Linked DNA regions of Homo sapiens: all the other regions are linked to region 3. Evidence: promoter capture Hi-C in human tissues and cell types (Jung and others, 2019). All regions are on one chromosome and are shown on one strand. Each heading gives the region's core, a stretch centred on a gene start or on the middle of the fragment in contact. The rest is flanking DNA. Distances are from core to core; before and after follow the strand shown.

Evidence for each region. The method cuts DNA at HindIII sites, captures the fragments that hold promoters and counts their contacts. A contact is called where the count stands out against the background at its distance.
Region 1: a fragment that was not itself captured here is called in contact with the fragment with the promoter of ZNF440 in region 3 in 1 of the 25 tissues and cell types used here (H1 embryonic stem cells).
Region 2: a contact is called between a fragment that was not itself captured here and the fragment with the promoter of ZNF440 in region 3, in 1 of the 25 tissues and cell types used here (dorsolateral prefrontal cortex).
Region 4: a contact is called between a fragment that was not itself captured here and the fragment with the promoter of ZNF440 in region 3, in 1 of the 25 tissues and cell types used here (liver).
Region 5: a contact is called between a fragment that was not itself captured here and the fragment with the promoter of ZNF440 in region 3, in 1 of the 25 tissues and cell types used here (H1 embryonic stem cells).

The regions. Positions count from the first base shown.
Region 1 is chr19:11,651,903-11,657,364 of GRCh38, reverse strand. It overlaps the pseudogene ZNF887P. Among named protein-coding and RNA genes, the nearest start is that of ZNF627, 57 kb to the right of the region's middle. The HindIII fragment of the contact is 4,182 bases long and covers 2,122-5,462 here.
Region 2 is chr19:11,980,009-11,984,721 of GRCh38, reverse strand. It overlaps ZNF763 (zinc finger protein 763), which reads right to left. Exons shown (of 4, transcript NM_001367172.2): 4 at 4,105-4,713. It also overlaps a transcript of ZNF69 not described here. Among named protein-coding and RNA genes, the nearest start is that of ZNF433-AS1, 5.3 kb to the left of the region's middle. The HindIII fragment of the contact is 4,224 bases long and covers 360-4,583 here.
Region 3 is chr19:11,812,761-11,817,730 of GRCh38, reverse strand. ZNF440 (zinc finger protein 440) reads right to left here and starts at 3,458. Exons shown (of 4, transcript NM_152357.3): 1 at 3,281-3,458. The coding sequence starts at 3,283. RefSeq lists silencers at 3,054-3,123, 3,544-3,623. The HindIII fragment of the contact is 18,958 bases long and covers 1-4,970 here.
Region 4 is chr19:11,565,944-11,571,008 of GRCh38, reverse strand. No RefSeq gene overlaps it. Among named protein-coding and RNA genes, the nearest start is that of ACP5, 9.2 kb to the left of the region's middle. RefSeq lists an enhancer at 2,587-2,676 and a silencer at 3,087-3,136. The HindIII fragment of the contact is 7,606 bases long and covers 1-5,065 here.
Region 5 is chr19:11,633,101-11,638,229 of GRCh38, reverse strand. No RefSeq gene overlaps it. Among named protein-coding and RNA genes, the nearest start is that of ZNF627, 38 kb to the right of the region's middle. The HindIII fragment of the contact is 6,249 bases long and covers 1-5,129 here.

The sequences.
Region 1 (5,462 bases), core at 2,963-5,462, 160 kb after region 3:
AGCCACCTTCAGCTATTCTCCCCCAGGGCTCTGCAGAACCTTCCAACCTCTCAGAAGGTTTGCGTCCTTTCCCTATCCACCACTCTGACCAATCCCACGTATTTTAATGGTACTAAAATACAGAAAAAATACAATTTATCATCTTAACAATTTTTTGTTGTTGTTGTTGAGATGGAGTCTTGCTCTGTCTCCCAGGCTGGAGTGCAGTGGCACAATCTCAGCTCACTGCAACCTCAGCCTCCCGGGTTCAAGAGATCCTCCTGCCTCAGCCTCCTGAGTAACTGGGCTTACAGGCATGCACCACCATGCCCAGCTCATTTTTGTATTTTTAGTAGAGACGGGGTTTTGCCATTTTGGCCAGGCTGGTCTCCAACTCCTGACCTCAGGTGATCCACCCACCTCGGCCTCCCAAAGTGCTGGGATTACAAGCGTGAGCCACTGTGCCCGGCCCATCTTAATTTTTAAGTGTAGAATTACTGGCTTTCAGTACGTTCATATTGGTGTGCAGCCATCACCACCATCTATCTCCAGAACCCTTTTCATCTTGCAATATTGAAACTTTATGCCATTAAATCATAAGTCTCCATTACCCACTTCCCCTATTCCACACAATCACCATTCTACTTTCTTTATGAATTTGACTCCTCTGAGTACCTCATATAAGCAAAAACATTTTGGGTCTGGAGTTTAAGGAGCCCATGTCTGGAGACAGGTTGTAAAAAATCAAGTGACTCGACCTTATAAGGTGTGTCTTTATATGAATGGACTATTTCACTTAGCATAATGTGCTCCAAGTTCATCAATGCTGTAGCATTTGTCAGGTCACCCTTCCGTTTGAAGGCAGAGTAATAGTCTATCCTATGCATATACTACCTTTTGCTTATTCATCCATCTGTCAATATACAAGAGAGTTGCTTCCACATTTTCCCTATTGGTAAGTTATACTGCTATACCATGTATACAAATACCCATTTCAGGCCCCCGTCTCTATTCTTTTGCTTATATTCCCAGAAGGGAAAAATGGTGGATGTTATTTCCATTTTTTCAATGTATTGATTACCTGCCACACAGTTGTTTTTTTTTTTGTTTTTTTGTTTTTTTTTTTGAGATGGACTTTCGCTCTTGTTGCCCAGGCTGGAGTGCAATGGCGCGATCTCCACTCACTGTAACCTCCGCCTCCCGGGTTCAAGTGATTCTCCTGCCTCAGCCTCCTGAGTAGCTGGGATTACAAGCATGGGCCACCATGCCCGGCTAATTTTTTTGTATTTTTAGTAGAGATGGGGTTTCTCCATCTTGGTCAGGCTGGTCTTCAACTCCCAATCTCAGGTGATCTGCCCACTTCAGGCTCCCAAAGTGCTGGGATTACAGGCATGAGCCACCGCACCCGGCCTGCCATATAGTTTTCAAAAGTAGTTGTGACATTTTGCATTTCCATCAATAGTGTACAAGGGTCCTCACTATTCCACATCGTTGCCAGCATGTTATTTTGTTCTTGGACAGAAGCAAACTAATGAGGGTGAGGGGATATAGATGTCATTTTGCTCTTGATTTGCATGTCCCTAAACCATGAGTGATGCTGAACATCTTCTTTATGTAATTATTGTCTATTTGTACATCCTCATTAGAGAAATGTCTATTCAACTCCTTCACCTATTTTTTAATGGGGTTGTGCTTTATCCACCAGGGGCTCCTAAAACAAAATGACATAAGCTGGGTGTATTAAACACCTAACATTTGCTCCTCAGTATACAGGAGATTGTGAACTCCAAGATCAAAGTGATAGTAGATTCAGTGCCTGGTAAGGGCAAGCTTCCTTGTTCAAAGAAGGCTTTCATCTCATTGTGTCCTCACATAATAGAGAGCAAATGCAAGCTCTCTAGGGAACCTTATAGTCCCATTCCTGAGAACTCTACCCTCATGATCCCAAGTAATCCTAATTACCTCCCAGGCATCCTATCTCCTCATTCCATACATTAGGGAGTAAGGTTTCAAAATATGAATTTCAGGGCTGGGCGTGGTGGCGCATCTCTATAATCCCGGCACTTTGGGAGGCCGAGGTGCATGGATCACCTGAGGTCAGGAGTTGGAGACCAGCCTGACCAACATGGTGAAACCCTGTCTCTACTAAATACAAAAAATTAGCCGGGTACGGTGGCGTATGCCTACAGTCTCAGCTACTTGGGAGGCTGAGGCAGGAGAATCGCTTGAAACCAGGAGGTGGAGGTTGCATTGAGCCAAGATTGTGCCATTGCGCTCCAGCCTAGGCAACAAGAGCAAAACTCTCTCAAAAAAATAATAATAATATGAATTTCAGGGGACAAATAAAGCAATAATTTTCTACCTGCTCCCTAAATTTATGACCTCACATGCAAAATACATGCTTACCATCCTAACATCACCAAAAGTCTTGACTTGTTTCAGCATACTCTGAAGCTTAATATCAAAGTCGCTTCCAGGTCACCAGAGATAACATGGCCAAAACCATTGCAAGATGTGTTTGATGATTCAAAGAGAAAGAAAAAACAGCTTTTCCTATGACAACGTTTCCAACTAAAGCATCTGCAATTATGAAGACTGAAACTTCAGCAGGGTGCGGTGGCTCACGCCTATAATCCCAGCACTTTGGGAGGCCAAGGTGGGCAGATCATCAGAGATCAGGAGTTCAAGACCAGCCTGGCCAACATGATGAAACCCTGTCTCTGCTACAAATACAAAATTTAGCTGGGGATGGTGGTGTGCGCCTGTAATCCCAGCTATTTGGGAGGCTGAGGCAGGAGAATCGCTTGAACCTGGGAGGCAGAGGTTGCAGTGAGCTGAGATCGTGCCACTGCACTCCAGCCTGGGCGACAGAGACTCCATCTCAAAAAAAAAGAAAAAAAAAAAGGACTGAAAGTTCGATGCTTAAATATTTTCAGCCCTCAAACACCACAGATCCAAGATTTGTGTTACTGACCTTCCACCAAAGAGGCAACATCTGCAATCAGATGTTGGTTCTTCCAGCAGAGGATCCTCCTGATGTCCTGAAAGAAAATTCTGGCCGGGCAGGGTGGCTCATTCCTGTAGTCCCAGCACTTTGGGAGGTCAAGGTGGGCAGATCACGACGTCAGGAGTTCAAGACCAGCCTGGCCAACATGGTGAAACCCCATCTCTTCTAAAAATACAAAAATTAGCCGGGTGTGGTGGCGGGCACCTGTAATCCCAGCTGGTTGGGAGGCTGAGGCAGGAGAATCACTTGAGCCCAGGAGGTGGAGGTTGCAGTGAGCCGAGATCACACCATTGCACTCCAGCCTGGGTGACAGAGCAAGACTCCATCTCAAAAAAAAAAAAAAAGAAAATTCAAGTTAAACTGATGTCCCCTGACTTATCTACACTGCCACATATCTAAGCACCTCAACACACTGCAGCTTTAGGAACCACAGAGCAATCATCACATGAGGGTTATCAGGAGAGAAGAACCAAGGATTTGGAGAATGTTAACACGTGTTTTTGAGGCCATTAAATGAAACCAATCCAAAACGTTTTTTAAAAAAAAAAGAAAATGTTTCATTGTAGCTGACATATACTATGAGGTGGGCCTGTACTATGGAGGTGGGCATGTGATGGTTATCTGTATTAAACATCTACAGATGTTTTTTCTTGTCAGCATTCCCTAAATAACACAATGAAACAACTATTTTTATATCGTTTACAATGCATTAGGCAGTATGGATAACCTAGAGATGATTTAAAGTGTACAAGAGGATGTGCTTAGGTTCTAGGAAAATACACCATTTTATATAAAGCACTTGAGCATCTTCAGATTTAGATGTTCTGAAGTGGGGAGCGGGGTGCCTGCAACTAATCCCCTGAGAATACCAGGACATGACAGTATTTCAGAGAAACAGAAACTACACAAGGCGTTACCACATTTTTTACACTCATAGTTTCTCTCCAGAGTAAATTCTTTCATGTATCTAAAATAAACAAGGAGCATGGAAAACAAGAATCGTTTTCCATGTTCCTTACAGTTATGAGGTCTATCGCCAGCATGTCACACCATATGCCTTCAAACGATTGAGAGAGAAAGGAAAGGTTTCCCATGTTCCTAACATCATTGTTTTTCTCAAGTGTCAGTTCTTTCATGGTTTCAGAAGGTACTGGAATAGTGGAAGGCTTTACTTTTTTTTTTTTTTTTTTTGAGACGGAGTCTCACTCTGTCACCTGGCTGGAGTACAGTGGCACAATCTCGGTTCACTGCAACCTCCACCTCCCAGGTTCAAGCAATTCTCCTGCCTCAGCCTCCCAAGTAGCTGGTACTACAGGCACATGCCACCACGCCCAGCTAATTTTTGTATTTTTAGTAGAGATGGGGTTTTACCATGTTGGCCATGATGGTCTCAATCTCTTGACCTCATGATCCGCCCGCCTTGGCCTCCCAAAGTGCTGGGATTACAGGCGTCAGCCACCGCACCCAGCCGGCTTTACATTTTTTATATCCACACAACTTTTCTCCGTTGTGAGTCCTTTCATGTCTTTGAAGGGAACTGTGATAACAGAAGGCTTTCCCACATTCCTTACACTCAAAGTTTCTCTGCAGTGTGGGTAATTTTATGTCTACGAAAAGCAACAGGATAACGGAAGGCTTCCCCACATTCCTGACATTCATAAGGTTTCTCTGCAGTGTGGGTAATTTTATGTCTATGAAAGGTCGTGGGATGACTGAAGGCTTTCCCACAGTCCTCACATTCATACGGCTTCTCTCCAGTGTGAATTCTTTTATGTACTCGAAGTGAACTGGAATATCTGAAGGCTTTCCCACATTCCTGACATTCATAGGGCTTCTCTCCAGTGTGAGTCTTTTCATGATTTTTAATAGAACTGGGAAATCTAAAAGCTTTACCACATTGTTTACATATATAGGGTTTCTCTCCAGTGTGAATTCTTGCATGTTTTCTAAGGGAACTGGAACAATTAAAGGCTTTCCCACATTGCTTACATTCATAGGGTTTCTCTCCAGTGTGAGTCCTTTCATGATACTGAAAGGAATTGGAAGAAGCGAAGGCTTTCCCACATTGCTTGCATTCATAGGGCTTCTCTCCAGTGTGGATTCTTTCATGTTTTTTAATGGAACTGGAACAACTAAAGGTTTTCCCACATTGCTTACATTCATATGGTTTCTCCCCGGTGTGCATTCTTTCATGTCTATGAAAGGAGCTGGGAAAACCAAAGGCTTTCCCACATTCATTACATTCATATGGCTTCTGTCCAGTATGAGATCTTTCATGTGTGAGATATAAACTGAGATTATCAAAGGCTTTCCCACAAAACTTACATTTATAAGGTCCATCTCCACTGTGCACTACCCTGTATCTTCGAACGGTTTGGGGAGAATCGAAGGTTTTTTCCCATTCCTTACAATCATAGGGTTTCTCTCCTGTGTGAGGCTTTTCATGTGTTTGGAAGGAGTGGAGGCAGCTGAAGGT
Region 2 (4,713 bases), core at 1,222-3,721, 170 kb before region 3:
CTGTAATCCCAGCATTTTGGGAGGCGTAGATGGGGGGATAACCTGAGGTCAGGAGTTGCAGACCATCCTGGCCAACATGACAAAACCCCATCTCTACTAAAAGTACAAAAATTAGCTGGGCATGGTGGCAGGTGCCTGTAATCCCAGCTACTCAGGAGGCTGAGGCAGGAGAATCACCTGAACCTGGGAGGTGGAGGTTGCAGTGAGCCGAGATCAGGCCACTGCACTCCAGCCTAGGCGACAAGAGTGAGACCCTTTCTCAGAAAAAAAAAGAAAAAACTTGCACTCATTCTCCAAGCCCACGTGTGATACAATTCTTCCAGTATACCAAGGCAAGAACCTTAGGATACAGAAAGCCCTCTGTCCTTGTGATAAGGCAGGGGTCTAATTGAGCATGGTTCATGGTAGCTTGGAATTCCTGGGCTCAAGCCATCCTCCTGCCTCAGCCTCCCAAATAGCAGGAACTACAGGCAAGTGCCACCATGCGCAGCTAACATTTTTTGTTAATGAGGTGATGTATCACCATGTTGCCTTGGCTGGTCTCACTCCTAGCCTCAAGCAATCATCTGGCTTTGGTCTCCCAAAGGGCTGGGAGTAGAGGTGTGAGCCACTGTGCCTAGCCTATGTCACATTTAAATATTATGTTTTTAGAGAAAATTTTCTAAGAGTAAATAAATGTGATGCTGGTCTTATTTCTTTTATTTGCATATTTTAAACATTTTCAGCCGGGCACAATGGCTCACGCCTGTAATTGCAGCACTTTGGGAGGCCAAGCCAGGCGGATCACCTGAGGACAGGAGTTCGAGACCAGCCCGACCAACATGGAGTAACCCCATCTCTACTAAAAATTCAAAATTAGCCAGACGTGGTGGTGGGCGCCTGTAATCCCAGCTACTTGGGAGGCTGAGGCAGGAGAATCACTTGAACCTGGGAGGCGGAGGTTGCGATGAGCCGCGATTGAGCCATTGCACTCCAGTCTGGGCAACAAGAGTGAAACTCTTGTCTCCAAAAAAACCAAAACATTTTCAGGCAGTATAAGATTTTCTAGAGAGAGAATGCTTTATCTTGTGAGGGAAACTTACCTTAGATTATTCCTGAGATTTTTGTACTGATCTTCAATGATCTGGTCTTTCCATTTTTTTCTTAAAATACAGATCCATAAAAAATAGTCCTGATTATAAAATTATGGGGTTTTTTTTGGAGATGAGGGTCTCACTCTATCACCCAGGCTGGAGTGCAATGGCATGATCACAGCTCACTGCAGCCTCAACCTCTTGGGTTCAGGTGATTCTCCTACTGCAGCCTCTCAAGTAGCTGGGATTACAGGTGCATGTCACCATCCTGGCTAAAAAGTTTGTAGAGATAGGGTTTCACCATGTTGCCCAGGCTGTTCTCAGACTCCTGGGTTCAAGTCATCCACCCACCTTGGCCTCTCAAAGTGCTAGAACCACAGGCATGAGCCACCATGCCCAGCTATTATAAAATTAGTTTAAAAATTATTAGATTCTATGTTCATGGCTCACTGCAGCCATTCCTGATTTATCAAAGTTTTCCCTGTCCATATTCCAAATCACTGAACAGCACTGAAGAGCTAGAAACACTTGTTCTTTAATAAACTGAGGGAAGTAATATTGTCACGTGATAGTTTGAATGTATGTTCCCACCCAATGTCATGAGGAACTGCAATCCCCAGTGTTGGAGGTGAGTCCTGATGGGAGTTGTTTGGGTCAGGGGGACCTATGGCTTGTTTCTCTCATGGCTTGTTGCTGTCTTTGTGATAATCAGTGAGTTCTAGTGAGCTGCACCTTCCTACACCACTCTCTCTGTCTCACTCCTGCTTTCGCCATGTGACTGCCTGCTCCCCGTTCACCTTCCGCTATGATTGAAAGCTTCCTGAGGCCTTCACCAGAAGCTGAGCAGATGCTGGTGCCATGCTTCCTTTACAGGCAGATGCCAGGCAGACGTCACTGTGAATCACTGTGCCCAGCAATGAATAATTCTTTACAAGGGGACAAACCCTGTCTGGACATGGTGACTCATGCCTGGAATCCTAGCACTTTGGGAGACTGAGCTGTGAGGACTGCTTGAGACAAAGAATTAGAGAACAGCCTGGGCAACACAGCATAATCCTGACTCTATTACTTAAAATTCTAAATAAAAGTCTGAAAAGCAGCATTTCCCACCTATTCTCTCTGAGGGAGCCTTCATCTACATAACAAGGTCTCCTTTGCTAGCCAAGCTTCTTCCTTTCCTTTAGCATAATCTGTCTTGCCATTAAAAATGACTTCCCCACCAAACCTGGAATTTTTTTGGCCATGCCAAGTCTGCATTTTTCCTGGCCTCAGAATGGTATGTAAGCTTTTTTGTCTTATTGTTGGGTGGGTCCTCATTCTGAAGGCTCCCATATATACATGTTAAATAAATTTGTATGACTTTTCTCCTATTAATTCGCCTAAGTTCCTTGATCTGAAAATTTTTTTCCTGTTTTCTCACCTTATTTTATTAAAAAAAGTTCAAAAACAAGCATATCTAAAAATGAGCATTTTCATATCCCAGAAATCAAGGTATTTTCCATAGATAACCAGAAAATGCTATTTAGTAATTGCCTAACATCAACACAGAGTGATATTAAAACCTTATTGTGTAAAGTGGAATTCTGGAAGCTTAGCTTTGAATACATTTCATTTTGTCTGTGAAACATTGAAGAGTGTGTGTGGTGTTATGATATGTATTGGTTTTCATCCAGGGTAATAATGTTGGGTGTGTTAGACCTCTGGGGAAGGCCCCTGACCTGCTGCCCTCTTTCCACTCTAATGTTTCCCCACCTTTTTGATTGTGGGTCTTAAAACCCTCCCATGAGAGGGTCCCACTGACTTCATGAAGACTTTTAGCCTTGGAAATACTCGTGATATTCCCTATCTGTAGCTGTGTGTCTGAAGTTAGCTCAGAATAAACCACAAGTGTGTAGATTGCTAAAATAACTTACTTCTAAACACTGAAACTCAAAAACTGCAGATTTCTTTGTCTAAGCAGATGCAGAAAAGCAGAAGTTATAAAGCATCCGGACTCAAACAGGCACCATCACTGCCTTCTAAAATTAGTAGCCTTCCTGGCATATGAACACCCTTTGGGCCTGTGCTCCAGTGTCTCTTTGGGTTGGTCCTTGGGCTTTTTGTGAAACATCAAGACACCTCCATAGTCTAGGCCAATGTCAGGCTCTCCAGTGTGTCCTGTTCATCACCCTCACCCTGCACTTTCATTGTCACTGTCATTGGCCATTCCAACATTGTGCTTGCATCCTGTGGAAAGTCACATTTGGGGTCAAGTGGATGGTGTTGTTTCTACTGTTTGGTTAAAAGTGTCAGGGTGTATTTGGCCTTCAAGGGAGGATAAGGCAGGGGTTGGATTCAGGTGCACCCAACTCTTGTTTTTTTCATTTTGAGACAGAGTCTTGCTCTGTCGACTAGGTTGGAGAGTGCAATGGTGTGATCTCAGTTCAGTGTAACAACCACCTCCCAGGCTCAAGCGATTCTCCTGCCTCAGCCTCCTGAGTATCTGGGATTACAGGGATTACACCACGATGCCCAGCTAATTTATCTATTTCTTAAGGTTTCACCATGTTGGCCAGGCTGGTCTTGAACTCCTGACCTCAAGTGATCCACTCTCCTTGGCCTCCCAAAGTGCTAAGATTACAGGTGTGAGCCACCGTACCTGCTCAGGTGCCCCCACCTCTGTCACTGCCCTGTCTTCCCTGCTGTGAATCATGCTGTGTGATCTGACAATCAATGATTCCACCCTTCACTGATGTGGATACATTATCTGGGACTGGGTATGTCATCTCCACACACAGACAGGGTTTGGTCAGTGATTGATGCTGCATCCCGTGATGCCTGGACTTTGACCTTAGGGAGTTTTAAATAAGCGTTTCTGAAGAGCAGCTTCATTGGAACCTTAATGAAAATGAATTTTTCCATGCCATTGCATAACATATAAAAGTGACTTTTCCATGTTGCCATTAACTTTACATGGCTGAAATAAACAGGCTGTTGACAAGTTAGTATCAACAGCACATTATCAGAGAAAGAAAAGGCTGTATTTAGACAATTTACATTATTATTGTAATTTATTAGCTTCCTGTGACTCACTAAACCAACCTGAAAAAAATAGCTTTCTAAGGTATAAATGAATTTCTATGTTTTACCCAACGTACTTTCTGGTAAACAGCACCCATACATTTTATGAAATATTTTAGTCTTTAGAGAATAAGGCAAAAACAGCTCCAGGAGTCTAGAGCTGACATCCCCTCACCACAAGGCCAAGTCTTTTTTTTTTTTTTTTTTGAGACGGAGTTTTGCTCCTGTTGCCCAGGCTAGAGTGCAATGGCACAATCTTGGCTCACTGCAACCTCTGCCCCCCAGATTCAAGCGATTCTCCTGTGCCAGCCTCCCAACTAGCTAGGATTACAGAAGCAGGCCACCACGCCTGGCCAATTTTTGTAGTTTTAGTAGAGACAGGGGTTTCATCATATTGATCAGGCCAGTCTTGAACTCCTGACCTCAGGTGATTCACCTGCTTTGGTTTCTATCCAGTGTGAGTCCTACCATGTTTTCGAAGGTGTGAGGTAGATCTGAAGGTTTTTCCACATTGCTTACACTCATAGGGTTTCTCTCCAGTGTGAGTCCTTTCATGTTATCGAAAAGAAGTGAAAGAAAT
Region 3 (4,970 bases), core at 2,209-4,708:
AGGATGCCCTACTCTGTAAGAGAGGCTTTCTTTCTTTCTTTCCTTTTTTTTTTTTAAATAGAGACAGGGTCTCACTGTGTTGGCCACGTTGGTCTTGAACTCTGTCTTGTTTGTTTGTTTTGTTTTTGTTTTTTGAGATGGGGTCTCACTCTGTTACCCAAGCTGGAGTGCAGTGGCGTGTCCTCAGCTGGGCTGCAACCTCTGCCTCCCGGGTTCAAGTGATTGTCCCATCCAGCCTCCCGAGTACCTGGGACTACAGGTGCAGGCCACCACACCCGGCTAATTTTTGTTATTTTTGGAAGAGATGGGGTTTCACTATATTGCCCAGGCTGGTCTCAAACTCCTGACCTCAAGTGATCCTCCCACCTCGGCCTCCCAAAGTGCTTAGATTACAGGCCTAAGCCATCATGCTGGCCCAGAGTAGCTTTCAATAAACTCTCTTTGCACTGTACTTTCCGACTCGTCTTGAATTCCTTCCTGTATGAGATCCAAGAACTCTCTTGGGATCTGATCAGGACCTCTTTTCCCAGTAATATAAGCAAGAACTTAACTTCCAATTTTGGAGTACTGAGTCCATTTCTCTGGAGTCTGTGTTTTTCCCAAATGGGCCATTGCTATCTTTTTGCTTGAATAAACTCTTCCAGTTGAAATCTGAAACTTTCGATTATTTCGGGTTGACAAGTCCAAATAAGGTGACTGCATCTCTGCAACCAATCAAGCATTTATCTGGTTTGTCTCCTCATGTACCTTATAAAAGTCCAGCCTTCAACCTGTAAACTAAAAATAAAAACATACCTTCTGGCCTGGTGAGGTGGCTCACACATGTAATCCCAGCATTTTGGGAGGCCGAGGCCAGTGGATCACTTGAGGTCAGGAGTTCAGGAACAGCCTGGCCAACATGGTGAAACCCCATCTCTACTAAAAATACAAAAATTAGCCGGGTGTGGTGGCACATGCCTGTAATCCCAGCCACTCGGGAAGCTGAGGCAGGAGAATCGCTTGAACCCGGAAGGTGGAGGTTGCAGTGAGCCAAGATAGAGCCACTGCACACCACCCTGGGCTACAGGAGACTCTGTCTCAAACAAAAACAAAAACAAAGTACCTTCCCAGCTAAGTGAAGTGACTGGCTCTTGGCCAAGGGAACCCCCAAAAAACCCTGAAAATTGAGTGCCTCTGTATGACAGGATGGGAGGTGAGACAGGTCTCCTTATACCCTCTCCCTTTAGGAGTTTACATGCAGCAACTGACGCACATTCATGTAAAAACAGACATTATCTGACTGGAAAAACAGACTCCTTGTGGCAACAAGATACCAAATTACAAACAAGACCTAAGGCCACGCAAGGCAAAGGTAAAGTTACGCCTTAGAATTCATAAAATCTCGAGAAACAGGTCTGTTTTTTGGCTGGGATGGAATGAAGTGGCAGATAACAGACCCCCTTCCTTCAGCATTCCTTCCTACCTCCTCCAAACTTTAGACAAAGATTCAACACTCTCAACCAGCTGCCACCTACAGAATCCCTCAACTACCTGTGCCTTCTAACCCCCCTTCCACAGGTCCCACCCTTTCTGCCAATGGAACTTACACCTTCCAGGCACTGATTCATGATTTTCCCTGCAATTCCTGTCTCTCTGAAATGAATAAAACCAAACTGTCTTGAGCTGCCTCGGGACCACTTACTCCAGGCTGCTTGGGGTTGTGTTTCCCTCGGCCAACGGCTCTCCTATTCGGCTCCTAATAAACTTCTTTATTTTACATAGCTTGGCTTTTTCCGTTGACAAACCACAAGCCAGGACTGGGTGTTTCTCATTCGTGAATCGTTGTTGTTGTTTTGAGATGGAGTCTGGCTCTGTTGCCAGGCTGGAGTGACGCCGTCTTGGCTGACTGCAACCGCCGCCTCCTGGGTTCAAGCAATTCTTCTGCCTCAGCCTCTCAAGTAGCTGGGATTACAGGCACGCGCCACCATGCCCAGCTAATTTTTGTATTTTTAGTAGAGATGGGGTTTCACCATGTTGGCCAGGCTGGTCTTGAACTCCTGACTTCCTGATCCGCCCGCCTCGGCCTCCCAAAGTGCTGGGATTACAGGCGTGAGCCACCGCGCCCGGCCCTAAACTCTTTAATTGTTAACGTACCTCAGTTTAATTTTTAACAGAAAAAAGTGGGCACTGGGGACCCCAAAGACCGCTACTCCTCCCACACGAACCTGTCAGAGATGATAAATTACTTTTCTAAAAGCTTTAGTAAGCTGTTCTTTGTTTCTTGAGACCGACTTCCTTGTCTCCTAGCTACCTGTTCTGTAAACAACCTTCCCGCTTTTGCCGCGCCCAGACAAGTCCAGATACGCCTTCCCGCCTAGTAACGGACAGTCCCTGTTCCTTCCCGTCTCATAGACCCTATTTAATTTGTGTGTGTGTGTGTGTGTGTGTGTGTGTGTGTGTGTGTGTGACGGAGTTGCCCAGTTGTCTCGCTCTGTTGCCCAGGCTGGAGTACAGTGGTGCGATCTCGGCTCACTGCAAGCTCCACCTCCCGGGTTCACGCCATTCTCCTGCCTCAGCCTCCCGAGTAGCTGGAACTACAGGCGCCCGCCACCATACCCAGTTAATTTTTTTGTATTTTTAGTGGAGACGGGGTTTCACCGTGTTAGCCAGGGATGGTCTCGATCTCCTGACCTCGCGATCCGCCTGCCTCGGCCTCCCAAAGTGCTGGGGTTACAGGCGTGACCCACCGCGCCTGGCCAGACCCTATTTAATTTTAAACCTTAGCCTATCGAGTTAGTTTAGATTGTGAGGTCCAACCCTAGCCAATGAGGAAAGGACACAGAAGTGCTAGAAACTGCGTTAAGGAGAAAAACCCCTGCCCTACCCCGCTCGCTGTGCTCTTGTGACTGGCGCAAGCTGCACCCTTGTGTAGAAATAAATTTGCTTTGCTGAGGAATTTTCTGCCTAGATGCTGGTTTTCTTTGCGGCACCGGGCACTTGTTTCTAACAAACCCCATATCCGAGGCGGGATCCCCCCATATCCCTCCCGTGGCCCCCGCATAATGTGGGGAGACGCGGAGCTGCCCAGATTAGGCTCCGGAGCCGGGGCCGCAGTCGCCGTGAAGGGACGGGACAGGAGGCCCGGGGTCCCGGCTGCCGGCCCAGCCCCACCCTGCGACCGAGGGGACTCGCGTCCACGACCCCGGAGTCGCCGCGTGGAGGCCCGGGTCCCGCCTCAGCCGGTTCCGGCCGATTCCAGCCCCTCTCCCAGTCGCCCGGACGCCAGCCCCCTCACACACACCATTTCTCGGCTTCCAGGGTGTTCCGGCGTCCTCTGCGTGGCTCCCGCGACTAGTGTAGGTCACAGTGCAGGTTACAGAGCGACAGAAGCTCTGGTGGAGGCACCTAGTCCCTCTCGAAGCAAGAAAGCCGAGATCCTGACCGCTGTCGGCGCAGCACTAAAGGAATGGACGGAGGGCGACTGTCCCTTCCCCCTTCCCCGGATGGACAGTTGACAGGGCCCCGCCCCAGCACCCCTGATTGGATGGGGCGCCAGGCCCCGCCTCCTCCGTGCTGAGTGACAGCAGAAGCCCTGGGTAACCGGGTCCTGCAGATCATGTCTGACTTGTTCTGGCCACAGCGTCTCTGAGCGAGCAGCCTCTCTAAGCGAGCAGCCTCTCTAAGCGAACAGCCTCTCTAAGCGAGCGCCTTCCTTGAGCCCTGGTCATCAGATATTTGCATTTCAAGGCGACTTGCTCCTTATTGTTAGAAGAGGCACTGTTAGCTTCCTCATTCAAGGGGCTGTCCCTGCTCCTTCCTTCTGCACGGGATCACAAGTGTGTGCAGGGCATTTCAGACTCAGTGTTCAATGGAGAGATACGCTTGCCTCAGAGCAGGAGGGGAGCCCAGACCAGGCAAGGCACGACTGCACCAGGAGAGAGAGGCAGATGTCTTCCAGCGTGCGGGAAATGGGATGAGGCATGGCCAAGGCTTCCTCACACTGCTATGGACTCCAGCAAGGTTTTCCTTGTAAGGGAGCTAACCAAGCCAGAACTTATTAAAGATTTAGAGGCTCTCAGTACTATGTATATCTATCCCTGGTGCATTGACAGTGACTGAAGACCCATTTTTCAGGACATGCTGTGTAGGACTGAGCCAGGGAACATGATATAGCATGGCACTTTTATCTCACATATAACCCCCAAGGAGCAGGGTTAACTGAAATGAAAGATGGTCTCAGGGGAAGCTGTAAATGAGAAATTCTGTCATAGAAATTATGATTTAGGCAGGCCGGGCGCGGTGGCTCATGCCTGTAATCCCAGCACTTTGAGAGGCTGAGGCAGGTGGATCACGAGGTCAGGAGTTCAAGACCAGCCTGGCCAACATGGTGAAATCCTATCTCTACTAAAAATACAAAAATTAGCCAGGAATGGTGGCGCATGCCTGTAATCCCAGCTACTTGAAAGGCTGAGGCAGGAGAATTGCTTGAACCGGGAGGCAGAGTTTGCAGTGAGCCAAGATCGTGCCACTGCATTCCAGCCTGAGACACAGTGAGACTCCATCTCAAAAAAAAAAAAATTATGTTTTAGCCATCTTTTTTTGAGACGGGGTCTCACTCTGTCGCCCAAGCTGGAGTGCAGTGGTGCGATGGCTACTCAATGCAGCCTCAACCTCCCAGACTCAAGCAATCCTCCCACCTCAGCCTCCTAAGTAGGTGGGACTACAAGTGCCTGCCACCATGCCTGGCTAGTTTTTTATTTTTGGTAGAGATGAGGTCTCATTCGGTTGTTCAGGTTGATCTCAAACTCCTGAGCTTAAGTGATCCTCCAGCCTCAGCCTCCCAAAGTGTTGGGATTACAGGTGTGCGCCTGGCCTCTTGGGCATCTTCATTGCTCCACACCTTACAATGATAAATTCAATATTCTGTGAATATTTCCTGGAGAAATTAGCACAGCCATAACTTGTGATAAGGTAAATCAGGTGTTGAAATT
Region 4 (5,065 bases), core at 371-2,870, 240 kb after region 3:
ATAGTGAAACCCCGTCTCTACTAAAAATACAAAAATTAGCTGGGCATGGTGGCGTGTGCTTGTAGTCCCAGCTACTTGGGAGGCTGAGGCAGAGAATTGCTTGAACCCGGGAGGCGGAGGTTGCAGTGAGCCGATATGACGCCACTGCACTCCAGACTGAGCAACAGAGCGAGACTCTTTCTCAAAATACATAAATAAATAAATAATTGTTTCCCTCTTACCAACAAGGCTGCAGTGGTGGTCCCTGGACCAATGCTGTGAAAGTAATGTGTAAGAAAACTTCTAGAAGGAGAATTATCTCAGGGCTGGGCACAGTGGCTCACACCTGTAATCCCAGCACTTTGAGAGGCTGAGGCAGGCAGATCACTTGAGGTCAGGAGTTGGAGACCAGCCTGGCCAACATGGTGAAACCCCATCCCTACTAAAAATACAAAAAATTAGCTGGGTATGGTGGCACGTGCCTGTAATCCCAGCTACTGAGGCTGATGCAGGAGAATCGCTTGAACCCAGGAGGCAGAGGTTGCAGTGAGCCGAGATCACACCACTGCAATCCAGCCTGGGAAACAGAATGAGACTCCGTTTCAGGGGAAAAAAAAAAAAAAAAAAATCTCAGGGCCTGTTTTTCTTATACTGAAAGCAGAGTGCTAGACCTGATGTGACAGTTGCAGGGGAGCCCAGTTCCCCTCTGAGGGAGAGTTAAGTAACACCCACCCCCAGGCAACCCAGGCCATTAGCGCTAGGCAAGGCACAGGAACCCCTCCTTTGGCCCACCCTCAACCGCCACTTGCAACTGCTACACGGCAGGGACCCAGTTGTTTGGCTCCAGCTGCCTGCCTAGCGGAGTGAAATGAATCTGGACAAAATGTAAACAGGGCTGAGTGCAGTGGCTCATGCCTGTAATCCCAGCACTTTGGTAGGTAGGGGCAGGCAGATCACTTGAGGACAGGAGTTCAAGACCAGCCTGGCCAATATGGCAAAAACCCACCTCTACTAAAAAATACAAAAGAATGAGTCAGGCCTGGTGATGCATGCCTATAATCCCAGCTATTTGGGAGGCTGAGGCATGAGAATCGTTCTTGTCTGGGAAGTGGAGGCTGCAGTGAGCTGTGATCACGCCACTGCACTCCAGTTTGGGAGACTATCTCAAAAAAAAAAAAAAGTAACTGAGGTTACTTCTGGGGAGAGGCACTTGGTGAAATTGTCACCTTTCATTTGTTATTTTACTTATTTTTTTTTTTTTGAGAAGAAGTTTCCCTCTTGCTGTCCAGGCTGGAGTGCAGTGACGTGATCTCAGCTCACAGCAACCTCTGCCTCCCAGATTCAAGCGATTCTCCTGCCTCAGCCTCCTGAGTAGCTGGGATTACAGGCATGCGCCACCACGCCTGGTTAATTTTGTATTTTTTAGTAGAGACAGGGTTTCTCCATGTTGGTCAGGCTGATCTTGAATTCCCGACCTCAGGTGATCCACCCGCCTAGGCCTCCCAAAGTGCTGAGATTACAGGCATGAGCTACTGCTCCGGCTTATTTGTTACTTTGCGCGCGCGCGTGTGTGTGTGTGTGTGTGTGTGTGTGTGTGTGTGTATCTTGGTATAATTTGCTACTTTATAGATGTCAATACTGTTGAATTTGTTACAAGGTGTATGTGTTACTGTTACAATTTTTTGGTTTTTTTTGAAACAGTGTCTCACTCTGTTGCCCAGGCTGGAGTGCAATGGTGTAATCATAGCTCACTGCAGTTTCCACCTCCTGAGCTCAAGGGATCCTCCTGCCTCTGCCTCCTGAGTGGCTGGGACCACAGCTTCACCCCACCACTCTTGGTTAATTTTGTGTGTGTGTGTTTTGTAGAGATGGGGTCTTGCTATGTTGCCTAGGCTGGTCTCAAACTCCTGACCTCAAGTGATTCTTCCTCCTTAGCCTCCCAAAATGCAGGATTACAGGTGTGAGCCATCATGTCTGGCCAACTGTTATAATTAAGCAGTGATCTTTCCAAAATGCAATCCTGGCCAGGGGTGGTGGCTCACACCTGTAATCCCAACACTTTGGGAGGCTGAGGCGGGCAGATCACTTGAGATCAGGAGTTCGAGACCAGCCTGATCAACATGGCAAAACGCTGTCTCCATTAAAAATACAAAAATTAGCTGGCATTGTGGCGGGCGCCTGTAATTCCAGCTACTCAGGAGGCTGAGACAGGAGAATCACTTGAACCCAGGAGGTGGAGGTTGCAGTGGGCCGAGGTCGTACCACTGCACTCCAGCCTGGGCAACAGAGCAAGACTCTGTCTCAAGCAAACAAACAAATCCCCAAAATGTAATCCTGAGTTTGTTCCAGCTGCCATTTACCGTCACTTCTGATCCTGGCCCATGAGGCAGGGGCCAGAATCATCCTTGCTTCTCAGAGGCTATTACAGAAGCTCAGACGTGTTTTTGTGGGTTTTTATTTTTTAATTTTTTTTGGTACAATATTTATCTTAGATTGGACGGCTTAACCACTGTGACCAAGGTAATTTCTAGGAAGTGGCAGTCCCTCAATCTTAACCACAACAGTCTAGGGAGGTCACAGCCGCGCTCTTCTCACTGACTCAGAGGCACCAGACAGGCAGGAGTCTGAATCAGAGGTCACCATCATAGCCCAAGGACCCCGTTCTCATGGCCCAGAGCACAGAAAGAAGAAGTGACACATCCAATGTCACACGAAGACTGAGTGGCAGGGGAGGGGGGATTGTAACTCAGGCTCCCTCCTCTACATCAGCCAGACACTTCTACCGAGCACCAAGGACCAAAGCTCTGTGCCAGGCAGCTGGGGACCCAAGGACACTAGGAGGAATAAATCAGGGTGGGCGCTGGCCCTCAGGGAGCTTCTGTCTTGCTGAGGAGACAACACCAGCCAGCACTCAGCCATCTTAATTAATTATTTTATTTTTTTCTTTACTTTTCTGTTTTTTAGACAGGGTCTCACTCTGTTGCCCAGGCTGTCAGGCTGGAGTACAGTAGTGTGATCACAGCTCACTGCAACTTCCGTCTCCGGGGCTCAAGCAATCCTCCCTCCCACCTAAGCCTCCTGAACAGCTGGGACTACAAGCACACACCACCACACCTGGCTAATTTTTTTTTTTTTTTTTTTTTTTTTTTTTTTTGAGACGGAGTCTCGCTCTGTCACCCAGGCTGGAGTACAGTGGCGCAGCCTCGGCTCACTGCAAGCTCCGCCTCCCGGGTTCACGCCATTCTCCTGCCTCAGCCTCTCCGAGTAGCTGGGACTACAGGCGCCCGCCACCACGCCCGGCTAATTTTTTTTTTTTTTTTTTTTTTAGTAGAGACGGGGTTTCACCGTGAGACAGAGTCTTGCTCTGTCGCCAGGCTGGAGTGTAGTGGCCTGATCTTGGCTCACTGCAACCTCCACCTCCCAGGTTCAATTGATTCTCCTGCCTCAGCCTCCCGAGTAGCTGGGACTACAGGTAAGTGCGCCACCATGCCCAGCTAATTTTGTATTTTTAGTAGAGACGGGGTTTCACCATGTTGACCAGGATGGTCTCGATCTCCTGACCTCGTGATCCACCCACCTCGGCCTCTCAAAGTGCTGGGGTTACAGGCGTGAGCCACTGCACCCAGCCAATTTTTGTATTTTTTGTAGAGAGGGGGTTTCACCACTTTGTCCAGGCTGGTCTTGAACTCCTGGGCTCAAGCAATCTGTCCATCTCGGCTTCCTGAAGTGCTGGGATTATAGCCATGAACCACCGCACCCGGCCTAATTTATTTATTTTAAGAAATGGTGTTCGGGCATGGTACATCACGCCTGTAATCCCAGCACTTTGGGAGGCCAAGGCGGGCAGATCACCTGAAGTCAGGAGTTTGAGACTAGCCTGGTCAACATGGTGAAATCCCTCCTCTACCAAAAAATACAAAAATTAGCCAGACACGGTGGTGTGCACCTATAACCCTAGATACTTGGGAGGCTAAGGTGGGAGAACTGCTTGAACCCGGGAGGTGGAGGTTGCAGTGAGTCGAGATCACACCACTGCACTCCAGCCTGGGCAATGGACTGAGACTCTGTCTCCAAAAAAAAAAAAAAAAATGCCGGGCGCGGTGGCTCATGCCTGTAATCCCAGCGGTTTGGGAGGCCGAGGAGGGCAGATCACGAGGTCAGGAGATCGAGACCATCCTGGCTAACACGGTGAAACCATCTCTACTAAAAACACACGCACAAAAAAATTAGCCGGGCGTGGTGGCGGGCGCCTGTGGTCCCAGCTACTCGGGAGGCTGAGAGGCAGGAGAATGGTGTGAACCTGGGAGGTGGAGCTCGCAGTGAGCCAAGATCGCGCCACGGCACTCCAGCCTGGGCGACAGAGCAAGACTCCATCTCAAAAAAAAAAAAAAAAAAAGAGAGATGGAGTCTCCCTAGGTTGCCCAAACTGGTCTTGAACTCCTGTCCTCAAGTGATCCTCTCACTTTGGCCTCCCAAAATGCTGGGATTACAGGCATAGCCACCACACCAGGTTCAGCCATTTTTGGAAAGATGCCTTTTAACCTGCAAGAAACGAGACAGCAGAGTCCCTCAGGCAAGTGGCAGGGTTTCATCTCTTCTCGATCCTCCTGAGCAACCAACCACTCCTGATTTCAGCTGTCACAGACACTATCATCTTGCCACTCTGCTTGTCAAACTAGAGGCTGAAAAAGGGACTGGCATTCTCATGCAGCCAGTAGGCTGTCTGTCACTTGACACTCAGGCCATGTCCACTTCCTAAACAGCATCCCAGGCCAAGAATCATGAATAAGAAGGTGAGATACCTGCCTTACCAATAGCAAAACATACAGTCATCAAAATAGTAACACACTGGCTCAGGGTCAGGTGTGGTGGCTCACACCTGTAATCCCAGCACTTTGGGAGGCTGAGGCAGGTGGATCACCTGAGGTCAGGAGTTCAAGACCAGCCTGGCCAACATAGCGAAACCCTGTCTCTACTAAAAATACAAAAATTAGCCAGGTGTGATGGTGGGCACCTGTAATCCCAGCTACTCGGGAGGCTGCTGAGGCAAGAGAATCACTTGAACCCTGGAGGCAGAGGTTGTAGT
Region 5 (5,129 bases), core at 1,211-3,710, 180 kb after region 3:
CGACTCCAGCTATTCTATGTGTAAACCAAAAATAAAATTCAAAGCCCACCCCTCTCTCCCAAACTGAAGGATTCCCCTCTCGGCTAAGGGCATCCCAAAGTAAACCTGAAAATCTAGAAATCTAGTTCAGGCCACGATGGAAAGCAGGGGTCAGACCGGTAGTCCCATCTTAGCACCTATGGTCCCAGTGATCCTCAAGTGGGAGGATCACTTGAGCCAGGGAAGTCAAGGCTGCAGTGAGCTGTGATTGTGCCACTGCACTCCAGCCTGGGCGACAGAGTGAGACTCCGTCTCAAAAAAAAAAAAAAAAATTATAATAAGTGTGGATGAGGACATGGAGAAACGGGAATCCTTGTGCACTGATGTAGAGAATGTAAAACATTGCAGCCACTGTGTAAAACAGTATGGCTGTTCCTTAAAAAGGTGAATTTAGAATTCCCCTGTGACTATTCAACTCCTAGGTATATATCCTAAAAAATCAAAAGCACAACACACAGAGACACATGTACACCAATTTCATAGCAGCCTTATTCAGAATATTACTGTGGAAAAAACCCACATGTTTATCAACAAACAAATGGATGAGCAAAGGGTGATTTATCCCTACAATAGAATATTTTCAGGCACAAAAAAGCAATGAATTACTGACACGTTAACACATGCATGCAACTTGAAAACATTATGCTAAGTGAAATAAGCCAGAGACACCAGAATAAATATTGTATACTTTCACTTATATGAGGTGCCTAGAATAGTCAAATTCATAAAGGGATAAAGTAGAATAGAGATTATCAGGGCCTGTGAATAGAGGAGAATGTGGAGTTACGTGCATGAGTATGAAAATTTAAGTTAAAAACATTGGCGGGGCCAGGTGCGGTGACACATGCCTGTAATCCCAGCACTTTGGGCGGTTGAGGTGGGTGGATACCTGAAGTCAGGAGTTTGAGACCAGTCTGGCCAACATGGTGAAACTCCATCTCTACTAAAAATACAAAACAAAAATTAGCCAGGCATGGTGGTGGCCACCTGTTATTCCAGCTACTTGGGAGGCTGAGGCAGGAGAATTGCTTGAACCCAGGAGGCAGAGGTTGCAGTGAGCCAAGTTCACGCCTCTGCACTCCAGCCTAGGTGACAGAGCAAGACTCCATCCCCCCCCAAAAAAAATTAAGTTAAATAATAGCCAGGCGTAGTGGCATGTGCCTATAGTCCCAGCTACTAGGGTGGTTGAGGCAGGAGAATCACTTGAGCCCAGAATCAGTTGGGGTTGCAGTGATGAGTGATTGAGCCACTGCATTCCAGCCTGGGTGACAGAGTGAGATTCTGTCTCAAAAATAAAAATACAAAAAATTAAAAATAAAAGGCAGTTTTCTTTTCTTTTTTTTGAGACAGAGTCTCACTCTGTTGCCCAGGCTGGAGTGCAGTGGCACGATATCAGCTCACTGCAACCTCCACCTCCTGGGTTCAAGCGATTCTCCTGCCTCAGCCTCCCCAGTAGCTGGGATTACAGGTGCATGCTACCATGCTGGGCTAATTTTTTGTATCTTTAGTAGAGATGGGATTTCACCATGTTGGCCAGGCTGGTCTCAAACTCCTAACCTCAGGTGATCCGCCTGCCTCAGCCTCCCAAAGTGCTGGGATTGCAGGTGTGAGCCACCACGCCTGGCCCTGGCAGCTTTCATATCTCAAATATTGAGTTAATTTTATACATATCCAGAATATCAGTCACACCTAATACTTACCTAATATTGATTGATAGAATGACATTAAAATGTCATTAATTGTGTAAATTTTAAAAAATTTCTTCTCAACACAAGATCTCACCATGTTGCCCACGCTGAACTTGAAGTCTTGGCCTCCAGCAGTCTTCCCACCTCAGTCTCCAGAAATGCTAGGAATGGCCGGGCACGGTGGCTCACGCCTGTAATCCCAGCACTTTGGGAGGCTGAGGCGTGTGGATCACGAGGTCAAGAGATCGAGGCCATCTTGACCAACATGGTGAAACCCTATCTCTACTAAAAATACAAAAATTAGCTGGGTGTGGTGGCGCGAGCCTGTAATCCCAGCTACTCAGGAGGCTGAGGCAGGAGAATCACTTGAACCTGGGAGGCGGATGTTGCTGTGAGCCAAGATCACGCCACTGCACTCCAGCCTGGCGAGAGTGAGACTCCATCTTTTTTTTTTTTTTTTTTTGAGACAGTGTCTCCCACTGTCGCCCAGGCTGGAGTGCAATGTCACAATCTCGGCTCACTGCAACTTCTGCATCCCGGGTTCACACGATTCTCCTGCCTCAGCCTCCTGAGTAGCTGGGATTACAGGTGCACACCACCACACCCGGCTAATTTTTTGTATTTTTAGTAGAGACAGGGTTTCACTATGTTGGTCAGGCCGGCCTTGAACTTCTGACCTCATGATCCGCCCGCCTCGGCCTCCCAAAGTGCTGGGATTACAGGCTTGAGCCACCACGCCCGGCCGAGACTCCGTCTTAAAAAAATAAAAATGCTGGGATTACAGGCATGAGCCATAATGCATGACCAAGACACTCATTTTATACCCCAAGACAAAAAATACTCGAAATGGAATGGAAGATGATATACTTTAAATGTACATCCCCGCAAAATCTCACATTGAATTGCAATCCCCAAGGTTGGAAGCAGGGCCTGGTGGGAGGTGTTTGGATCATGGGGACAGATCTCTAATGAATGGCTTGGGCCATCCCCTTAGTGATAGGTGAGCTCTTCTTCTGAGTTCGCACAAGGTCTGGTGGTTTGAAAGTGTGTGGCACCTCCCCTCTACCTCTCTCTCTCGTTCCTATTTTGCCACGTGAGAGGCCTGCTCCGGCTTCACCCTCCACCAAAAGTAAAAACTCTGAGGCCTCCCCAGAACCTGAGCAGATGCCAGCACCATGCTTCCTATAAAGCTTGCAGAAACATGAGTTGATAAAACATTTCTTTATCAATTATCCAGCCTCAGGTATTTTTATGGCAAAGCAAGAAAAGCCTAATACAGAGGTAAAAAGGTATTCCACGCAAATAGTAACCAAAAGAGAACAAGAGTGGATATGCCATTATCATACTTGACTAGACTTTAAGGCAAAACCTATTTAAAAACACAAAGAACGCTATCTTTTGTGTGTGGGGGGGTACATAGTAGGTGTATATATTTATTGGGTACAAGAGATATTTTAATACAGGCATACAATGTGTAATAACCATGTATTAGTCCGTTTTCACACTGCTGATAAAGACATACCTGAGGCTGGGAAGAAAAAGATGTTGGTCGGGCACGGTGGCTCACGTCTGTAATCCCAACGCTTTGGGAGGCTGAGGTGGGCAGATCATGAGGTCAGGAGTTCGAGACCAGCCTGGCCAAGATGGTGAAACCCCGTCTCTACTAAAAATACAAAAATTAGCCAGGCATGGTGGTGCAAGCCTATAGTCCCAGCTACTCAGGAGGCTGAGGCAGAAGAATTGCTTGAACCCGGGAGGCGGAGGTTGCAGTGAGCTGACATCATGCCACTGCACTCCAGCCTGGGTGACAGAGCAAGACTGCATCTCAAAAAAAAAAAAAAAGAAAGAAAAGAAAAGAAAAGAAAAAAAGAAAAAGATATTTAATTGGACTTACAGTTTCACATGGCTGGGGAGGCCTCAGAATCATGGCGGGAGGCAAAAGACACTTCTTACATGGCAGCGGCAAGAGAAAATGAGGAAAAAGGAAAAGCAGAAATCCCTGATAAACCCATCTCACTACTATGAGAACAGCAGGGGAAAGACCATCCCCCATGATTCAATTACTACCTCTGGATTCCTCCCACAACATGTGGGAATTCTGGGAGATATAATTCAAGCTGAGATCTGGGTGTGGACACAGCCAAACCATATCATTCTACCCCTGACCCCTCCAAATCTCATGTCCTCACATTTCAAAATCAATCATGCTTTCCCAACAGTACCCCAAAGTCTTAACACATTTCAGCATTAATCCCAAAGTCCACAGTCCAAAGTCTCATCTGAGACAAGGCAAGTCCCTCCCGCCTATGAGCCTGTAAAATCAAAGGCAAGCTAGTTGCTTCCTAGATACAATGGGGGTACAGGTATTGGGTAAATACAGCCATTCCAAAGGGGAGAAATTGGCCAAAACAAAGGAGTTACAGGGCCCATGCAAGTCTGAAATCCAGCAGGGCACTCAAATTTTAAAGCTCCAAAATGATCTCCTTTGACTCCAGGTCTCACATCCAGGTCACACTGATGCAAGAGGTGGGTTCCCATGGTCTTGGGCAGCTCTGCCCCTGTGGCTTTGCAGGTACAGCCTCCCTCCCAGCTGCTTTCACGGGCTGGTGTTGAGTGTCTGCAGCTTTTCCAGGTGCACAGTGCAAGCTGTCAGTGGATCGACCATTCTGGGGTCTGGAGGATGGTAGCCCTCTTCTCACAGCTCCACTAGGCAGTGCCCCCAGTAAAGACTCTGTAGGGGGGGCTCTGACCCCACATTTCCCTTCTGCACTGCCCTAGCAGAGGTTCTCCATGAGCACCCCACCTCTGCAGTAAACTTTTGCCTGGACATCCAAGTGTTTCCATACATCTTCTGAAATCTAGGTGGAGGTTCCCAAACCTCAGTTCATGACTTCTTTGTACCTGCAGGCTCAACACCATGCGGAAGCTGCCAAGGCTTGGGGCTTCAACCCTTTGAAGCCACAGCCCAAGCTGTACGTTCGCCCCTTTCAGTCACGGCTGGAGTGGCTGGGACACAGGGCACCAAGTCCCTACATTGCACACAGCACGGGGACCCTGGGCCTGGCCCGTGAAACCACTTTTTCCTCCTGGGCCTCCGGGCCTGTGATGGGAAGGGCTGTGTAAACGTGTCTGATGTGGCCTGGAGACATTTTCCCCATGGTCTTGGGGATTAACATTTGGCTCCTTGCTACTTAGGCAAATTTCTGCAGCCAGCTTGAATTTCTCCTTTAAAAATGGGTTTTTCTTTTCTACCGCATCATCAGGCTGCAAACTTTCCAGAGTTTTATGTTCTGTTTCCCTTTTAAAACGAACGCTTTTAACAGCACCCAGGTCACCTAGTCACCTCTTGAATGCTTTTCTGCTTAGAAATTTCTTCCTCCAGATACCCTAAATCATCTCTCT